Linked DNA regions of Homo sapiens: regions 2, 3, 4, 5, 6 and 7 are each linked to region 1. The links are contacts of gene promoters, found by promoter capture Hi-C in blood cells and fetal thymus (Javierre and others, 2016). All regions are on one chromosome and are shown on one strand. Each heading gives the region's core, a stretch centred on a gene start or on the middle of the fragment in contact. The rest is flanking DNA. Distances are from core to core; before and after follow the strand shown. Region 1 holds the start of MSH4 (mutS homolog 4). Region 2 overlaps ZZZ3 (zinc finger ZZ-type containing 3). Region 3 overlaps AK5 (adenylate kinase 5). Region 4 holds the start of LRRIQ3 (leucine rich repeats and IQ motif containing 3). Region 5 overlaps AK5 (adenylate kinase 5). Region 6 overlaps LOC105378808 (a long non-coding RNA gene). Region 7 overlaps AK5 (adenylate kinase 5).

Region 1 (2,700 bases), core at 173-2,672:
ATTAAAAGAGTTTAAGAGAAGACCAGTCAAGAACATTAAACATAGGCCAGGCAGCAGTGGCTCATGCCTGTAATCCCAATGCTTGGGCAGACCGAGGCAGGAGCACTTGAGACCAGGAGTTTGAGACCAGCATGGGCAGCATAGCGAGACTCTGTTTCTAAAAATAAAGAAATTAAGAACATTAAATACAGCAGAAAGGTCACATGAGATGAACTGAAAAATGACCATTGGATTTGGTATTTGTTACTTTACCATTGTGTTGCAATCGTGTGTGAAAAATGGTGATGCTTTGTCATGAATAGAGACTAACAAAATAATAAATGATTTGAAGGACATGCATCTTTTTTGTTTGTTTGTTTTGAGTCAGGGTCTCACTGTGTCACCCAGGCTGAAATGCAGTGGCGCAATCTCAGCTCACGGCAGCCTCGACCTCCCGGACTCGCCATCCTCCCACCTCAACCTCCTGAGTAGCTGGGACCACAGTCACGTGCCACCACACCCAGATAATTTTTGTACTTTTAGTAGAGATAGGGGATGGGGGTGGGAGGTTCACCATGTTGGCCAGGCTGGTGTGGAACTCCCGGCCTCAAGTGATCCGCCCACCCTGGTTTCCCAAAGTGCTGGGATTACAGGCGTCAGCCACCGCCCAGCCCACTCTTTTAATACTAAACATATTATTTTCCCTGAATTAGATGAAATGTTCAATTTAATCTATTTTATCCCACCTTAGCAGGATTTGGAGAATTAAATTCAGCAGCCAAAGATCAGCTCACAACTTCTATCAGCAAACTCACGCACAAACTGTCATTTGTCAGACACTGTGAGGGACGTTATATGGGATACTTCAGCCTTTCTCAGAACTGAGCCATCCACAGTCAAGGTCTTGCAATAGAACCAATTTGAAAAGTCAAGGCTTCTAATCACCCAGACTCACCAAATTCCCAGGGCACTCAGATCTCACGCCCCAACCAAATCACAACTTCACTGTGGTAACCACCACCCACGTGCCCCCGAGCCTCCATGAACTGCCGGCCTCTAGCCTCAAGGAGACTCCTCCACCCAATCACTCCTTGCCTTGAGCTGGCCGGGAGTTTGGCGCGGGGCAGGGAAGGCTGCTGCTGCTGCTGCTCCGGTCGCCCGCAGCTCCTGACGTGCCAGGACAGGTGGATGCAGAGACCACCTGGACCGAAGGGCGGCTCTGTGGAGTCTCCTGGAGTCCGAAATTGTAGCGGGGACCCTGAGGTGAGCGGGTTTCTCCCGACGACGGGGAAACCGCCGGGGCAGAAGGCGAGGTTGATGAGATCTCAGGCCTCAGCATCCTCCCAAACCTTCCCTGACCCGAGAAGTATGAGGTTTCTGAGCGACCCCTCCAGTAGCCCAACTACAGAAGCTGCGCCGCTGAAACGGGCGGGAGAACTGCGCGCCGACGCACTAAGCTGCACTGCGCAGGCGCAGGCAGGCTCAGCTTTCCACATGGATTCACGTACTTCAGGTCTATGACCCTGCTTCCAGCCATTCCCAAACCCATCACTTTCCACATGAACCTCACTGGAACATCCTCAGCCTGCAGGTATCAGACTGACCAGAACTCTGCAAGGCCCATCAATGACCACCCGATTTGTTAGCCCCATTATTCTCACAGCACCCAATCTCCCTTATTGCAAATGTTACATGCATTTCCCACACGTCCAAGCACACTAGCTTATCTTTAAATGTAGAAACCACCCAACACAGTACACCCAGTGCCTTTGACACAATGAGAACGTGTAATGCTCACACAGCATAACCCACCTAAGGTTGATCTTGTGACCAAATATAGGAAAGATAGTTATATTATCAAAAGATAGTATGCACATGGCTGTGTGCATAGTAGAGTAGGAAACAGGGAAAGACTGACTGGGTAAGATCTCTCAGTTAACAATTCCCCATCTACCAATTTCTAGTACTGTGGTTTCTAACATATAAATCAGTTAATGGCACACTAGAAGTTCAAACTCCAGCTTTGCAGTGGTGACCTTTAGAAAATTCCTTAAATAAGGCCAATAGTACCAACTTACCAGAGATCCATGGATTAAACATGACGAAATTATCTGGATACTGCCATACAGAAGCTATTAGAAGACATTAATTTACACCACTACTGAAATCCTGCCACTGTTGAGTATCTCAATAAACCAGTTATGCACAGCGGTTTACCCACATGCAGTGACAACAGTCCTTAAGAACATCTCTGTTCTTGGAATGATTATTGCACAGGGCATTCCAAACATACTTGAGAAAAATCTCAATTTCCATCAAAAAACCTTATTTTCAGATCGGGCACGATGGCTCCTCCCTGTAATCCCAGTACTTTGGGAGACTGAGGCCAGAGGATTACTTCACCTCCGGAGACCAGCCTGGGGAAGACAGTGCCTGTCCCCAAAATTAAGAAATCAGCTGGGCATAGTGGGCATGGTGGCAGGTACCTGTAGACCCTGGTACTCAGGAGGCTGAGGTGGAAGGACTGCTTGAGCCCAGGAGTTTAAGGTTACAGTGAGCTGTGATTGCACTACTATGCCCCAGCCTGGGGAAGAAAGGAAGACCCTGTCTCTAAAAAATAAAATTTAAAAATAGAGAATACCTCACTTTCACCAAAACTGTAAACCCCTAGAGTGATTGTACTCATTTTAGGCCAGGCGTGGTGGCTCACGCCTGTAATCC
Region 2 (2,870 bases), core at 76-2,575, 1.8 Mb before region 1:
AGTATACCCTCTTTTGCTTTTCAGTATACCCTCTTCTTTAAGTTTTCTGCTTTTCAGTTAGTTAACAACTTCGGTGCTAAATAGGATGCTCAGAGTGTAATTTTATACGTCAGCTACATAGCTTTCTTTGAAGTTTCCTTTGCCATTTTCATCTCTCTCCAATTTATCTTATACATTGTGATCATATTAGCCTTCCAAATGCAAATGTTTGCTTGTATCATCATTTAATTGTTTAAAACTTACATTTACTCCGTATTGCATTAGAATGGTACACTTTACAATAATTTGTGAAGGGCATGCTTCACAATAATCTGTGGAGTTTTAAAAAATATATAGATGCTCTACTTCCTGGGGATTCTGGAATTGGACAGAGATTTTAGAGAGTCTCCTATTTTGTAGAAGAGGAAACTAAAAGCCTGATAAGGTGTAATATTTGATATTCTGTCTAGAATGTCTTAACCTCTTTTTGCCTTTCCTTTTGAAATCCCATCTATTTTTCAGGATTCAACTTGCTTTTTACTTCTTATATGATGCATTGTTTGTATCTCCCTGAAATGATCATTTTGTTCATAACATGCTTATGCATTCATCATGGCTAGTTAAATTTTGCATATGTGTATTTCTCTTAGAGTACATTAATCATTAAAACTCTGGCAAATTCTAGGAATTCACTAAGAATTTTATAAGCTTTCTTATTTTTCAATATTTAAATAAACAACTACTGTTCACACAGTCACATCTTCTTCCCTAAATTGTAATGATCTTGAAGGTAGTGCTGCATGTTGGTTATATGTGCCTCCTTTAGAATGGTTGATGTAACAGAACATACAGTGAATGTGCATGGTAAGTGTTTGAATGGGTTGATGCAAGTTCAAGATAATATTACAAATAATGTTTGTTGAGCAGCACTTTATACTTTGCCTCATAGTAAGCTAATGATCCAGCTGAGAGGACCACAATTTTTTTTTTTTTTTTTTTTTTTTGGGCCTGTCAAGGCAAGTTCATACCATCCTATACTTATCTGGTTGTTTTGTAATTCAATGCCATATTTTTTGTTTATGTAGTTAAATGTTATCTTGTTGTTGGTCTAGTTTTCTAGCTTGCCTGTTATTTCTTAATCCTGATTTTTTTAATCTATAGTATTTGCTATCCTTCTCAGCTTCATGTTCATAAATTTGGCAAGTTTGTTTTTTATGTGTTCATTTAAGTGTTAAGTGTTGAAAAGAATTGAGGCTTGTATGTTCCTTTAGCATACTTAAAGAACTCCCAAGATGTCATAAACAGAATATTAAAACAGTGCTCTAAATATAGTCTAGAACTATATCTGAACTGTCGTCATTGAAGAGTCATCCATCTGTATAACTACTCAGCTCTTATTTTCTTTTGTAGTTTCTGTTTTCATTTTTATGAGCACTTTCTGTTTCTTGAACCTTACTATGCTATGGGACAGCATTAAAGATGTAGAAAAATGGCTTTCCTCTTAAAAAATCACACAATATAATAAAATAAGACATTCATTTTAAGAACTAAAGGGATAGGTGTACCTAAAAATTTTTGCCTTCAGGCAGTATACTGTTTAGTGACCTAGGGAACAGCCAGTCTCTTCATAAACCAGCCATAATATTCCTGATAATTTCCTTTTAGAAGTGACTTTTGTGAGAGAAAAGTTATTATGCCTCATGAGTAGACACTATAAAGTAGGAGAAACTTATCACATAGGTCTTTTTAAATATTCTCCTCTTTGAAGGCAGTAACTTTGCATACTTCTAGCTGTGGGCAGAGCCAATAAGCCCAGTTGTCAGATACGATTCTGTATGAAGAAAGTGGAGACTTAATGCTGTATTTGTGTATACAACATAAATGGAATCCATTTACAACTCAGAAAGAATATATAGTAATGAGTGACCTGAGTGGTACAAGTATCTTAGGATCCTTGAATGTTTTGCTTAGAAAAAAAGCTTTTGCAATTATCCATTTTGTCCATTTTCATTTTAAAGACAAAGAAGCAAGACCCAAGGTTTAATGACTTGAATAAAGTTCCATGGTTAGTTGCTGGTAGAGCTGGGACTTGAACTAGGACTCTTAAAAAGTTCTAAAGAGTGCAGGTGATCTCTTTGTAACATTTTCTTCCTAGAAAAGTTATTTTCCCTTAAAAAAAATTGTGCAATATCTTATGCATATAAGACTAATGAAGTATTTATGCACAGTTATAGAGTAATTATGAAATCAAATAGCCTATAGTTGTTTAATCACTATCCAGGTTAAGAAATAAAATATTGATAGCACTTTACAAGTCTCCTAGGAATAGTTCTTCAGTTATACCTTGCCCCTTTCCTCTTCCCAGAGGTAAATATGATCTTACTTTTGAGAAAATAATTCTTTGCTGTTTTAAAAACTTGTAACCACCTATATGTGTATCCTTTTAACAATAAAGTTTAGTTTTTCATGCTTTTGAACCGTACTGTATCTGTTCATTTGTAATACATTATGTTTGTGATATTTGTATGTGTTTATATAAATAGATGTCCATTTTCATTGCTATATTAAGCATTAGTATTAGATGGACTTTGGGGTTATTAATAAGGCTGCTATGAACATATGTCTTATACTGTGTATATTCAAGAGTTTCTTGAGGTCGTACCTAGGTATGGGATGTCTGGATCTTAGGGTATGTACATCTTCAACTTTACTAATTAATTCCAAACTGAGATATTCTAGTCTGTTCTGAGAAAGCTGTTTGTTTCCTGTTCACCCTTAGTTCTAAGGTATAGCCTTTCAGGATCCCAACCCAAGGGCTGGGCTGGTTTCAAAGTTCTCTCTTGATAGGCCCTAGACTCCAACTCTGATCTTCTACTGTTTTAAGCTGTCAA
Region 3 (2,700 bases), core at 48-2,547, 1.5 Mb before region 1:
GAAAGAATGAATAAGACCTACTATTTGATAGCAAAACAGGGAGACTATAGTCAATAATAACTGTACATTTTAAAATAACTTAAAGAGTGTAATTGGATTGTTTGCAACTCAATGGATAAATGCTTGAGGGGATGGATATCCCATTCTTCATGATGTGCTTATTTCACACTGCACACCTGTATCCAAATATCTCATGTGCCCCTTAAATATATATACCTACTATGTACCCACAAAAGTTAAAATAAAAAAAGTTTAAAAAAGAATTTGAGCATAGATCCTCTGCACTCTCTTCCCCTTCCAATCAGCTGGAACCTGGCCATGGCAGTGACCTAGCTTTCAACATGCAGATGTCTACAATGTCCCAGGGCAGTTGTTCTGAAATTGTGCTCTTAAACCTCTGAGGATCGTCAAGACCCCTTCCAGAAGGTCATAGGTCAAAACTATTTTCCTACTAACACTATGACATTATGTGCCTTTTTTACTCTCACTTTCTCACAAAGGTACAGTGGAGTTTCGCAGTGGCGACAGGAAGTGTGATGTCACAGCAGTTTGAATACAAAAGCAGATATGAGAATACAACTCTCTTCTATTAGCTAGAAGTTAAAGAGATTTGCAAATATATAAAGCAATATCTCTCTCAACACTTTTTAAGTTTTGGAAAATATGATTACTTTTCTAAAAATATGTTATTCAAGTTAACTTGTGTGGATTTATTGTTATTTTGAAGGACTTAACAAATATTTTAAAATTTGTTTTGATTTCTCATATGGTGAATATCAATAGATATAGCACATATAAATGAAAGCTTTTTGAGGTCCTTAACAATTTTTAAAAAGTGTAAAGAGGTCCTGTGACCAAAAATTTTAGAGCTGTTGCTCTAGAGTTGGAAAGACAATGAGCTGGAAAAAACCCCGCATCTCTGCATGAATGTGAGGACTAAAACTGTCCTCCCCTCATTCACAGTGAGGCCATCCATTATATAAAAGGGAAATAAGTTTCTGTATTATGCTACTGTGTCATTGTGTCTTTCTATTATAGCACCTGGGATTTACTCTAAATAATACAGCCAATAGTTACATAAGTGGGGGCATGCTACTATATCAAAAAAACTAAAACATGCGACATTGATTTGCTTGGGTAGTAAGGGCACAGACATTTTAGGATGGAAAATTGATAACCCCTGTTATGTCATTGCATAACATCATTATTACTGTGATAACTTGGGAGGCAGGTCATGTTCCAATGGAGCCCATAGCTAAAGAAATGGCTGGAAAGAGCTAGAGTGTCTGTGTACACTGACTGCTCTTTGCTGCGTTTAGCAACATATTACAAGAAATAGATTAACTCAAGAAAGAATTGACTGCTTTGCGAGCAGATATAAGAAAAAAGAAAGTATCCACTAATTTAAGACCGCACAAGGTTAAAAAAGCCAACTGCCTGTATACCTCCAAACAGCAGGAGATTAGGCTATTGCAAAAAGAATTCCCATTTACCCACCACTACCACCAAAAAACAGGGCACCTAGCCCTGAAGCAAAACCTAGACTAAGGATGCTGCCTTTCTACCCAAGCCTGCTGTTTTAGATGGCCTGAAGCTAATTGTCATTAAAATGAGAAAGCAAAGAAATCACCACTATGCAATATATCTGCGTAATGAAACTGCACTTGTACCCTCAATCTATAAAAATGAACAGAAAAAGGAAAAACGGGAAGATAAAAAAGAAAGCAGCTTAATAACTATCTCTGGAAAAGGACTTATGATATAGTTACTAGCACGGACTGGAAGCTTTTTGCTTTTTCCTCTTTTTGAGAGGAAATCTACCAAATTTGGAAAGAAACAGTTTTTACCAAAATAAACATAATTCTAGCCAAAAAAAGGCATTTTTTTTTTAACTTAAAATAGGTCTCAGCCAGTTGCAGTGGCTCACACCTGTAATCCCAGCACTTAGGAGGCTGAGAGAGGATGATCACTTGAGGCCAGGAGTTTGAAACCAGCCTGGGTAACACAGGGAGCCCCTGTCTCCACAAAAAGTTTTTAAAAAACTAGCTGAGTGTGGTCCAGGAGTTCGAGGCTGCAGTGAGCTACAGTGGTGCCCCTGCACTCCACCCTGGCTGACAGAGAAGGATCTTGTCACTTAGGAAAAAAAAAAAAAGGAGAGGATAGCATATTAGTCTCCAATATACTACTTCAATGTGTCATGCAGATAATGGACAAGGAAGAACTTCTCAGAGGAACTGCCAGGGCAAGGACCTTTGCAATCCCTGCCTAACAGGATTCACTGTGGTTCAGTGAGTACTGTGTATATTCTCAAACTTTCCTTTTTTGAATAGGAGCCTTTATTTCATTGTCCTGGGCTTGCTCCTCCACTCTTTATTAGTGGTAGACAAGGAAGATAACATGAAGTTCAGTTTCCAGGTGGCTGAGTATGAGAAGTCAAAGCTAGACCTGATGAAGAAAACTATATATAGAGTAGAGATTCTCCACTTTTGAACTAAATGATGGGACTCTGGTTGTTTTACTTGGGGAGTGAGTGAGTACATTGTATGTGTGGGAAGAAGGGAGCAGGCGAGCATTTGCATGGCCAGAGAGGCAAACTGTGGGAGAAGATGCTAGTTAGTTCTCCCAGACTTCCATAGTAATAGCATTGCTGCCAGGCACCTGGCTGCCCAGCTGGACTCTACTTCCCGGCCTTCCTCTCAG
Region 4 (2,700 bases), core at 66-2,565, 1.6 Mb after region 1:
AATAGTTATAATGAAGACTGTTCACAAGTTCCTTTTTTTTCTTTTAGATCACTCCCTCCTTTTATGGTTTGCAATCCAATTTAATTATAAATTCTGAATGACATAATGTTTCTTGATTAAGAGAGCGACTTTTAACTTGCCAAAGACTATTGCCTCAATTCTTCAATAAGAAGAGGAGATAAACATAAACAAATCTCCAGCTTTGCAAATCAATTCTTATGTATCACGGACACTTGGTGTTAGGTGACTAAGAAAGACACAACCCAAAGATCCCTTCCCTCAATGTTGCTGTTTATAAATGTGGGTACTTTATTTTCTATTACTTTAAGATGAACCATGCAAACTTACATAGGCTGTTAGAATATAACATAAAATTCTGGATAACAGAAGGTCCCAACTCTCTGATGACATCTTTAAAAGACAGTGTGCACTTTTAGTAGACAGTTGGAATCTCTTTATTGATAAACAAAATGATTTAGCATTTTAATTAGTTAACAAACAGAACTTGTCAGCTAGAATCTAATAGTCCTGAAAGTTTTACTGTTATCCAAGAATTAGTCCCAGTATTTTTTAAGCAGTCACTGCAACACAAATATAATCACTTTTATTAGACAGGTGTACAGGGATTAAGTGTCATAGCCAATTTTTTGATAACAAATTTCTTCCTTTTAATTTTTAATCCATAATTCCTCCATGTTCTGTTACTCCCTCAACAAACGGTTACATTACAGAAGTAGATGAACGTAATGTAAAGCGTGAAGTAGATAGGGGGCTGGCATCTACTCATAAAGTTCAAAATACTGTGCTTCGTATCTTTTAGATTTATTTAAAGCAACTTTTATTAATGAGCTAATCAATGCATAACTTCACTAGTAAGATTTTCTTCTTCTTCCTCCGCCCTCATTTTTAATATCTATACTACTAAGAATAAAGTAAGCAACAAGCATGTCAAGCAGGGACAGTGAAAAGAATAAAAAACTCAAAAGGATTATTAGCTAGCTACTCCTGGGGAGCGTCATAGGCCTACAGATGAGAAGTAAACGGGAAGTGACAGTCCAGCAAACCTCCTGGCACGTAAAAGCACCCTCCCTCTGCATTGCCCAGGAGAACTCCGGTGCCTTCTCTGGTACCTCTTAGCTCGGAAAACCTCCGCAATTTTCGCTGGGTGGCTTCTCGCAGCGATACTTCCGGAGGGTCCCTAGCAGCTGCCATAGCCCCACCTTCCCTGAGACCGCGCCGCACAGCACGCATGCGCCCTGGGGTGCGCCTCCGCCCGGTTGTTTCTGACCCGCCCCCTCCGTGCGTCGCCCACGTAACCACGCCCCCGGAGCGCCTTGGCTGGCGCCCGGAAAACCATGATGTGGAGAACTTGGATGTTGTCTTGTTTCTCTAGCAACGGTCTCAGGAGCAGATGGCCGCCCAGCGATTTGTCTGACTGTGTTGGGGCTGGGCCACTTGTCTCCAACTCATAAGGGCTTGCAGCCCAGTTGACCCGGTGAGTGGTTCAGTTTGGGTGACAAAATTGTTAGAACCGACCCGCTAAGGATAAGGCGAAACTACATTCTAGCTTCCCAGCTTTCACATCAAAGGCGGTTCGTCCTAACTGGTGGTTTGTTTCAGCCTGGAGCAGTTCCCCAGGATAGCCTGATAGAAGATCTCCGCCATCTCTCCTTTCCCCCGCCACCCCGGGCCATCTGCCCCCAACCCTGGGTCATGATACATACACAGTCTGAATATTTAAAATCTCTGCTCTTTCTAGGAACCTTAAGTTTGTGGTTCCTAGAGAGTGAGCCACCCCACCCCTCTGTTTTTTCTTAGTAGGCTACACACGACAGCCTCTCAAATAGTGTCTTTGAAAGTTGTATAAAATTCAGTCCGCAACCAGGCTCCAAATATTTTTGGTATTTTGGTTTCTTCTCTGGCATTCTTTTGTATATGCAGATTAATCTAGAATGTTCAATAACACTCTTAGGAATAAGTCAGCCTTTTTAGGTGTTTTTTTGGGTAGCTATATAAAGGTGTTCCTGTTATAGAACACGAGGTTTCTTGGTTTTACAGACCACTTCATCTTTACACAGAAGAAAACTGAATCAGAGAATAGTGAGTTAGTCAAGGTATCACAATTAGTAAGTAATAAAAGATTTAAGAAATATATTTCAATCCCAAACCCAGAACTTGTGGTATTTCACCATACCGTTTGATTTTTTGAGACGATTTCTCTGTATCAACGTCTTCATTAGGTACGTAGACATTCAGGGCACCATAAACTCTTGTCATAAATTTACTTAGTTTTTCTTCTCAGACTTGTTATACAATCGTGTTCTAATAGTGGAAACATTTGGATAAAATGGCAGATTAGATTACTCTTTCATAGTTTTACATTTAAAACTTCATTAATTAAAAAAACAGTATCTTATTGAAGAACATTTAGAAAATACAGAGACTTGAGTGAAAGTAACCAAAGGAGAAAGTAGCGAGAGAAGGTCAGAGAGAGAACAAAGGGCCATAGGAAGAATTTTGGTTTTTACTCTTGAGGGAAACAAAGCCATTGCAGGGTTTTGAAGTGACTTGGCTTATGTTTAAAGAGATCACTCGGAGATAGGAGAATAGATTATAATGGGGGATGAGGCAATGATAGAAGCAGGGAGACTTCTTTGGAGGTTACTGCAATATTGCAGGTGAGAGCTGGTGAAGGCTTGA
Region 5 (2,700 bases), core at 108-2,607, 1.7 Mb before region 1:
CTCAGCCAACCCTCCCTCCCTCCAAAGTAACCAAGAGGAATAATAAATGGATGTTGTTTTAAGCCATTAAGATCTAGGCAGTGACACAGCAACAGTTAACTGCATATGCAGCACTTCTTACTTTGAAACAATATTCGAAAATCCTTTAGCCCAAGGACTTTTACCCTTTCTATTTTGGCTGTCTGCTATAATTTCCCCAAGACAATGCAGAAGACAGCTACCAGGTTGGTTTCTAGAGTGACCTAGCCTAGCTCTGTGCCTCCTGGAAACGTGTTGAACTCAAAAGCCAGCCTTTATAGCTCCTGTTTGTCTTAAAATCACAGTACTAAGCTCCAAAGCAGGTAAAGAGAAACATTTTACTGTCTTTTGAAAAGCCTTTAGCAAAGAGTATTTGAGGACTATTTAAAGACATGGTGACATCATCTGGAAAAGCACACATTCAACCAAGTACCAAACACAAATAGATGGAAGAGCCAAGGAAACCGGCCTGCTCTTTTCTACTTCTGAAAGTCCATCATATATAATGTGGTATAGAAAAAAGAAAACTGCCAAAAGCAGAAATGAAAGAGGCTCAGGACAGAAAAGCAAGCATGAGAGTTAACTCTTAAAAGCTGGGAAATTCAAAATCCAGGGCTGGACCCTTGCCACTGAGTGAAGGCAGCCCTTTCCTGGGGCCTGAAGCCACAGGCCTGCCTCTGAGGCACGGCTGCCAGGTACAGCTCTACAGTTGTGCACTTCACAAATATTCCTGGCTAAGGAGCTGAGTAGGGACTGAATCCAGTTACCAACCTGTGTGTCTCACTGATGTGTCTGCCAAGACGGGGATCTTTTTCTAATCTGCACAAAAGTACCATATGGGCTAGCAGTGGCCTGACTTGAGGTGAAGGTTTATCAATTTTTTCCATATTAAATGTTAAGGAAAGAGAGTACAGGGAAAAAGAAGCAAAGCAGAATTTTACTGCTTTTGCAAATGCTGCTTCAATGGTATCAGTCAGACACTGCAACCACATCTCCCACCCCCTCAAGAGTTCAAATAAACATGCCTCCATTTATAAGCCAAGAGGCTTGGTGTACTAAAGTGGCCTCAGGCCAGTCCTCTAAGACCCCCTTTAACCCTACCCCAGCACTTAAGCCCCTCTTCTGTAAACATTCTGGAGCTGCTGCTGCTGCTGGTCTCAGCCTTCAGTGACTCCTAATAGAGCAGCCATTCCTTTCCTGTGCTTACATGATGATACTGCTATGAGCACCGGGTGAGGGATGATGAGGAAGGGATGATGTAAGTGCAGGGCATGCTCACTGCTTCTGAAACCAGTCCACCTTGAGAGAGGACAGGGCTGGTCCTCTCAGATATACCGTATGAATTCAGAGCAGCCTCCTCTCCTCCTTCCCCTGAGGTTGTAAAGACCTAAAACTTTAAAGGACAGTGGGAATATTTCATAGGCTGGAATCAATACTTGTCATCAATGCCTCTTCATGGCTTTTCTTTATGTGTACTAAAATCGAAGAATTAAAAGCCTTAAAGAGGAGTAAATACGAAGAAGATTATGCCATGGATTTGACACATTAGTATATATTTTAGAAAAAAAATCAGGTATGAAATTACCATATGAGAACTAAGTGGACTGTAAAATAACTATTTTATGCTCAAAACAGTTTTTATCTTTGAACATCAGCTTCACAAAGGCACATTTCCAAATCATCAGCCTTGGATTTCCGAAGTGTTTTTCCTATTCATTTTCTACTTATTACTGAGCAGCAGGCTCTGCGCAGAACAGAAGTCTGTGGGGTGGAAGGAGAAATTCTCATTGTTGTGAATGCATTCATTGTGTGAGTCTGTTCACAGAAACCCATGAAGGAGAAACTAGGAGCCTCCACTTTACAAGGAAAGAAAGTGAGGCTTGGGTGAGGGAATGACACAAGGACCAAAGTCTCACACCTGGTATGTAAGAGAGCTGATACCTTGACCCAGGGGACTGAACTCCAAAGACTCCATGCATTTTTCCCTATCCAGGAATGAATAAAAGAGGCAATTTGATATTACTTTCTATACAGGAGTATGTTACAATTCAGGGAGAGTTACAATTTGATGCATGTTCACATCTAAGTTAATGTGGTCCCATAGAAGCTATTGTATTTTCTTTAAATTTCAGTGTCTTGCATGTATATGTTGCTTTATACATGGAAAATATTTTCATTTCTGCTACCTGCAATGCAGTGTGGGATGTTGGCAAAAGCACTAGATCCCTACCCTGGGTGCTATGGTTGCTATGGTTTGAATGTTTTGGTCCCCTCCAAGACTCATGTGTTGAAAACTTAATCCCCAGCGCAACCATGTTAGAAGGTGTGGACCACTGGGAGGTGTTTAGATCATGAGGGCAGAGCCCTCTTAAAAAGGGCTTGTGGATGTGGGTTCTCTGCCGCCCTTCTGTGTTCCAACATGTGAGGACGTAGCAAACAGGCCCTCACCAGATGCTGGCACCTTGATCTTGGTTTCCAGACTCCAGAAGTGTGAGGATTAAATTTTTGTTTTTTATAAATCACCCAGTCTGTGGTATTTTGTTACAGCAGCACAAAATGGGCTAAGTCACTAGGTTTGGGTCAAATTCTGCTTTGGACTCTTGTTAACATCAATGAGGTCTTTATTCAGCTTTGAGGGCGTGATCTGTCCTGATCTGCCAGGTATTGTGCCCAGGCTGGGGG
Region 6 (2,700 bases), core at 4-2,503, 1.4 Mb before region 1:
ATTCACCCCATAGCTTAAACATAGGTGGTGGTTGCTCTGCATGTGTTAAGAAGTTACATCAAATGTGCTCAGAAATTACATTAATGACATGGTTTGGCTGTGTCCCCACTCAAATCTCATCTTGAATTGTAGCTCCCATAATCCCCATGTGTCAATGGTAGGACCCGGTGGGAAGTAATTTAATCATGGGGGCAAGTTTTTCCCCTGCTGGTCTCATGATAGTGAATAAATCTCAGGAAATCTGATGGTTTCATAAAGGGCAGTTCCTCCGCACATGCTCTCTCTCTTGCCTTGCTGCCAGGTAAGATGTGTCTTTGCTCCTCCTTTGCCTTCTGTCACGATTGTGAGGCCTCCCCAGCCATGTGGAACTGTGAGTCCACTGAACCTCTTTTTCTTTATAAATTACCCAGTCTTGGCTATTTCTTCACAGTAGTATGAAAATGGACTAATACAGTAAATTGGAACTGAGGTAGTGGGGCTCTGCTATAAGGTTAACAGAAAATGTTGAAGCAACTTTGGAACAGGGTAACAGGCAGAGGTTGGAACAGTTTGGAGGGCTCAGAAGAAGACAGGAAAATGTGGGAAACTCTGGAACTTCCTAGAGACTTGGAGGGCTCAGAAGACAGAAAGATGTAGGAAAGTTTGGAACTTCCTAGAGACTTGTTGAATGGCTTTGATCAGAAGGCTAATAGGGATACGGACAAAGAAGTCCAGGCTGAGGTGGTCTCAGATGGAGATGAGGAACTTGTTGGGAAATGGAATAAAGGTCACTCTTGCTATGCTTTAGCAAAGAGACTGGTGGCATTTTGCCCCTGCCCTAGTTATCTGTGGAACTTTGAACTTTAGAGAGATGATTTAGGGTACCTGAGGGAAGAAATTTCTAAGTGGCAAAGCGTTCAAGAGGAAGCAGAGCATAAAAGGAAAACTTGCAGCCTGATGACGTGATAGAAAAGAAAAACCCATTTTTTGCGGAGAAATTCAAGCCTGCTGCAGAAATTTGCATAAGTAACAAGAAGCCACATGTTAATTACCACGACAATGGGAAAAATGTCTCCAGGGCATGTAAGAGGTCTTCCTGGAAGTCCCTCTCATCACAAGCCAGGAGGCCAAGGAGGAAAAATGGGTTTATGGGCTGGGCCCAGGGCCTTGCTGCTTTGTGCAGTCTCAGGCTGCTCACATGTGATATTGGGACTGTGGGTGCACGGAAGTCAAGAATTGAGGTTTGGGAACCCTGCCTAGATTTCAGAGGATGTATGGAAACACCCGGATGTTCAGGCAGAGGTGTGCTGCAGGGGCAGGGCCCTCATGCACGACCTCTGCTAAGGCAGAAGGGCAATGCAGAAGGGAAATGTGGGGTGGGATCCCCCACACAGAGTCCCCACTGGGGCAGTGCCTAGTGGAGCTGTGAGAAGAGGGCCACCATCCTCCAGACCCCAGGATGGTAGATCCACCAACAGCTTGCAGCATATGCCTGGGAAAGCCAGAGACACTCAATGCCAGCCTGTTAAAGCAGCTGGGAAGGAGGCTGTATCTTGCAAAGCCACAGGGGCAGAGCTGCCCAAGACCATGGCAACCTACCTCTTGTATCAACGTGAACTGGATGTGAGACACGGAGTCAAAGCAGATCATTTTGGAGCTTTAAGATTTGACTGCCCTGCTGGATTTTGGACTTGCATGGGCCCTGTAGTCCCTTCATTTTGGCCTATTTCTCCCATTTGGAATGGGTGTATTTACCCAATGCTTGTACCCCCATTGTATTTAGGAAGTAACTTAACTTGCTTATGATTTTACAAGCTCATAGGCAGAAGGGACTTGCCTTGTCTCAGATGAGACTTTGGACTGTAGACTTTTGAGTTAATGCTGAAATGAGTTAAGACTTTGGGGGACTGCTGGTAAGGCATGATTGCTTTTGAAATGTGAGGACAGGAGATTTTGGAGGGGCCAGGGTGGAATGATATGGTTTGGCTGTGTCCCAACCCAAATCTCATCTTGAATTGTAGCTCCCATAATCCCCAAGTGTCAAGGGAGGGACCTGATGGGAAGTAATTTAATTATGGGATCAGTTACCCTCATGTTGTCATGGTAGTGAGTTCTCACGAGCTCTGATGGTTTTATTTATCTATCTATTTATTTATTTTTATTTTATTTCATTTTATTTTTTGAGACAAAGTCTGGCTCTGTTGCCCAGGCTGGAGTACAGTAGCGTGATCTTGGCTCACTGCAACCTCTGCCTCCCAGGTTCAAGCGATTCTCCTGCCTCAGCCTCCCTAGTAGCTGGTATTACAGGCATGTGCCCCCACACTGAGCTAATTTTGAAACATGGGGTTTTGCCATGTTGGCCAGGCTGGTCTTGAATGCCTGACCTCAGATGATCTGCCTGCCTCGGCCTCCCAAAGTGCTAGGATTACAGGTGTGAGCCACTGCACCTGGCCTCTGATGGTTTTATAAAGGGTAGTTCCTCTGCACATGCTCTCTCACCTGCTGCCATGTAAGATGTGCCTTTGCTCCTTCTTCATCTTCTACCATGATTGTGAGGCTTCCCCAGCCATGTGGAACTGTGAGTCCACTAAGCCTTTTTCTTTAGAAATTATGCAGTCTTGGGTATTTCTTCATAGCAGTATGAAAATGGGTTAATACAAGTAAAGTCTCATCAAAGTGTGGGTATGAAGTTACATCTGGTCATGAATTTGAGGCATAATC
Region 7 (2,700 bases), core at 31-2,530, 1.6 Mb before region 1:
TGGTGTCATATTATGCATAAAATAATTTGCAATTATTTAACCTCCCAAATTTTCACAAATTTCCTATTAATCACACTATCAGTTTCTATGAAAAGCTAAAATTGTATTCATTTCCTCCATCTTCCTTTTTTCTGCAGTCATCTTCTCCTCCTCACTACATCCTTCTGTCACTTTTCTGTATTTAACTTATGTAATCCAGCATTTCTCCTGTTTCAGGCAGCCTCAGTGGCCCAGATAATGATACTTCCTTCTTCCCTATTAGCAAGGCACAGAAACTATTCTTGCAGTAGCCATTGATTCATCCACTTTCTTTCCTGGCGTTTGGGACAAGAATTTGCAAACATCTTAACTACACGTTTGAAAATGGAATGTTTCTATTCCCTCATTTCCACCATTTTCTTTTCTCAGGCAGATGTGGTCTTGGCTTTTACCAATAGTGTATCACATCAAAGTAATTCTACAGTCTCTCTCTGGAGACATCAGAAAGGCAGCCTTGGGATATCCACTTTCATACCTCACAGGGTCCCACAGTACAGTCCCCTCCAATTCAGGCTGCTCTCTAGTCAAAGAAGTCAGTTACTATTCTCAACGTTGTAAGCTTCACTGATCCTTAATTATGCTGCTTGACTATCAGTAAGCCTTCTTTTTTCCAGACAAGGTAGTTCTCATTTCGGAGCTAGCTCTGCTTCCATCCAGTCTCCTGGTTCTTCTCTTCTACTTTCCTCCACTTCCCTGATATTCTGAATTTGCTTCCTTCATTTGCGGTCTGTGATTCAGACTGTCCATTGCAACAGCAGCCCTTCCAGTCACCACGTCAAAAGAGCTTTCACACTTCACATTCTCTTATTCTCCTTTTGGCCAAGTGGAGAAAGTTCAAGGCTGTAATTAATCTTTTTTTTTTTTTTCCATAGAGCTTATGCTTCCCACATTGTTTTCAGTAGAGCATAATAGTTTTCTTAAATGTCAGGCTTTATGTAGCTGATAACATTTTAAAGGTATTTCTCCCACGTTTTTCATTCTGAATTATCATAGTTTCCCATACATGAGGAATGCTTAATGCAAAAACAACAACAACAACAACAACAAAACAACCAAAAGAACGACCAGGTTCTTTTACATGGCTTTGGGTTTCTCAGATGTTAAAGATTTAGTGGCAAAGACTACCTGAATGCTGAAAATAACTTACTGACAGAGGACAGTGCTTGGGGTGATGATAATTCAGAGATAATACACCTATTAATTTGTTCTCTAAATGTAGCATTTAACATTGAATGCATACAGGGACAGAGATGCTGTGACTGCTGTTTCACTTTTCCTTTCCTTTAAAGACAAACATCTGTTAATCTAGCAGCTTGACTTGTATCATAAAATATGCATGTCACTACGGAGACCAGTGAGATTGATCTGAATAAGCAATTAATGCCCAACACTTGTGATATTGTATTTGCAGAATTATGGAAGAAAAAATGTTACAGAGTAGAATAAGAGGAATTCAAACCTTGAGTCTCTTAAAGCCTCATTTATATATGTGCATGACAATGGAACTTTCAAACAATATGATTGTTAATATGGCATTATGTCATAATGGATCAAGAAACAGTAATGCTTGTCATTTAAAATGGCAGGATAATAAGAAAATAAGCAGCTGAGAAATCAATGTTAGACAAAAGTATCCAGGTGGTGGTTTTAGCAGCCAATTTTAACACAGAAATAATGGTTTACATTGCTCTGAGCAAACCTTTACTAATGGAAAGCCAGTCTTAAACAAAAGATAAATGAAAGGATGATTATTTGCTTTTCAAATGATTCAGTTGTTCCCTAAAAATGTTACTAATCAGATACCAAGTCCTGTTAATTCCCAGCAGAATGTAGCTAACTTTAAGCAAGATGCAAGAGGCTTGTTTTGACTCCATGCTGCTCATCACTTGGAGTATGTTTTCAGACACATGTGATTAAGCTTCTTCACCTATAAATGAAGACGTTCTAGGTCCAGTCAGTGGTTTCCAGCCTGGGAGTATGATTGGGGTTTAGGAAAGCAGTGATAAGCATCCACAAGTTACTTTAAAAAATATTTTGCATTTCAGAATGCCTAATGGGAATTGTATTTATGTCACGAAGATGCTCTAAATGTAAGCTAAAACCTTGAGTTTCTTTGCTTGGCCTTGTCAACTTAGTAGTAATAGTGGTTAACTCATGCTGGTCAAAGCTCTGATTGATTATAATGACATTCTAGAAATTTACAGTGACAATTAGGGTAAAATAATATTTAATGTTCCTCAGAGATGAAAAAATTGTGTATCCCTAAGTTTTTGTATCTTTAACATTCTAATATTCCTCCTTTCCATTGCCAATGCCATTGTTCAAGTTAAAGTCATGCTCATGTCCTAGCTGAAAGGTTGCTATAATTGCTTAACTCCTTCTTGACTTCTGGCTTAGTCTTCTGGTCACAGCAAGCCACATATTACCAGCAGGCTGATCTTGCCTATATCTTGCTCAAAAACATTCAGGTGCAGCACTATTCACCATAGCTAAGAAATGAAATCAACCTGTGCATCCATGAACAGATGAACGGACAAAGAAAATGTAGCACATTTACACAATGGAATTCTATTCAGCCATAAAAGGAATGAAATCCTGTCATTTGCAGCAACATGGGTAGAACTGGAGGTCGTTATCTTGAGTGAAATAAGCCAGACACAA

What was found. The method cuts DNA at HindIII sites, captures the fragments that hold promoters and counts their contacts. A CHiCAGO score of 5 or more calls a contact.
Region 2: a fragment that was not itself captured here is called in contact with the fragment with the promoter of MSH4 in region 1 in 2 of 17 cell types (total CD8 T cells and total CD4 T cells); the score reaches 8.5 in total CD8 T cells.
Region 3: a fragment that was not itself captured here is called in contact with the fragment with the promoter of MSH4 in region 1 in 1 of 17 cell types (activated CD4 T cells); the score reaches 5.5 in activated CD4 T cells.
Region 4: a contact is called between the fragment with the promoter of LRRIQ3 here and the fragment with the promoter of MSH4 in region 1, in 1 of 17 cell types (activated CD4 T cells). The highest score is 7.2, in activated CD4 T cells.
Region 5: a contact is called between a fragment that was not itself captured here and the fragment with the promoter of MSH4 in region 1, in 1 of 17 cell types (activated CD4 T cells). The highest score is 5.8, in activated CD4 T cells.
Region 6: a fragment that was not itself captured here is called in contact with the fragment with the promoter of MSH4 in region 1 in 1 of 17 cell types (activated CD4 T cells); the score reaches 5.3 in activated CD4 T cells.
Region 7: a fragment that was not itself captured here is called in contact with the fragment with the promoter of MSH4 in region 1 in 1 of 17 cell types (activated CD4 T cells); the score reaches 5.1 in activated CD4 T cells.

The regions. Positions count from the first base shown.
Region 1 is chr1:75,795,604-75,798,303 of GRCh38, reverse strand. MSH4 (mutS homolog 4) reads right to left here and starts at 1,422. Exons shown (of 20, transcript NM_002440.4): 1 at 1,075-1,422. The coding sequence starts at 1,318. The HindIII fragment of the contact is 6,934 bases long and covers 1-2,700 here.
Region 2 is chr1:77,593,035-77,595,904 of GRCh38, reverse strand. The region is part of intron 5 of ZZZ3 (zinc finger ZZ-type containing 3); the gene reads left to right. Among named protein-coding and RNA genes, the nearest start is that of ZZZ3, 88 kb to the left of the region's middle. RefSeq lists an enhancer at 1,369-1,488. The HindIII fragment of the contact is 1,271 bases long and covers 690-1,960 here.
Region 3 is chr1:77,301,406-77,304,105 of GRCh38, reverse strand. All of the region lies in intron 5 of AK5 (adenylate kinase 5), which reads right to left. Among named protein-coding and RNA genes, the nearest start is that of AK5, 21 kb to the right of the region's middle. The HindIII fragment of the contact is 980 bases long and covers 808-1,787 here.
Region 4 is chr1:74,196,791-74,199,490 of GRCh38, reverse strand. It overlaps LRRIQ3 (leucine rich repeats and IQ motif containing 3), which reads left to right and starts at 1,315. Exons shown (of 8, transcript NM_001105659.2): 1 at 1,315-1,495. FPGT-TNNI3K (FPGT-TNNI3K readthrough) reads right to left here and starts at 1,249. Exons shown (of 27, transcript NM_001112808.3): 1 at 1,131-1,249. The coding sequence starts at 1,212. FPGT (fucose-1-phosphate guanylyltransferase) reads right to left here and starts at 1,249. Exons shown (of 4, transcript NM_003838.5): 1 at 1,131-1,249. The coding sequence starts at 1,212. RefSeq lists a silencer at 1,312-1,411. The HindIII fragment of the contact is 8,918 bases long and covers 1-2,700 here.
Region 5 is chr1:77,466,457-77,469,156 of GRCh38, reverse strand. The region is part of intron 8 of AK5 (adenylate kinase 5); the gene reads right to left. Among named protein-coding and RNA genes, the nearest start is that of AK5, 190 kb to the right of the region's middle. The HindIII fragment of the contact is 4,658 bases long and covers 1-2,700 here.
Region 6 is chr1:77,221,058-77,223,757 of GRCh38, reverse strand. All of the region lies in intron 2 of LOC105378808 (a long non-coding RNA gene), which reads right to left. Among named protein-coding and RNA genes, the nearest start is that of PIGK, 3.0 kb to the right of the region's middle. The HindIII fragment of the contact is 4,293 bases long and covers 1-2,700 here.
Region 7 is chr1:77,386,954-77,389,653 of GRCh38, reverse strand. All of the region lies in intron 6 of AK5 (adenylate kinase 5), which reads right to left. Among named protein-coding and RNA genes, the nearest start is that of AK5, 110 kb to the right of the region's middle. The HindIII fragment of the contact is 1,359 bases long and covers 601-1,959 here.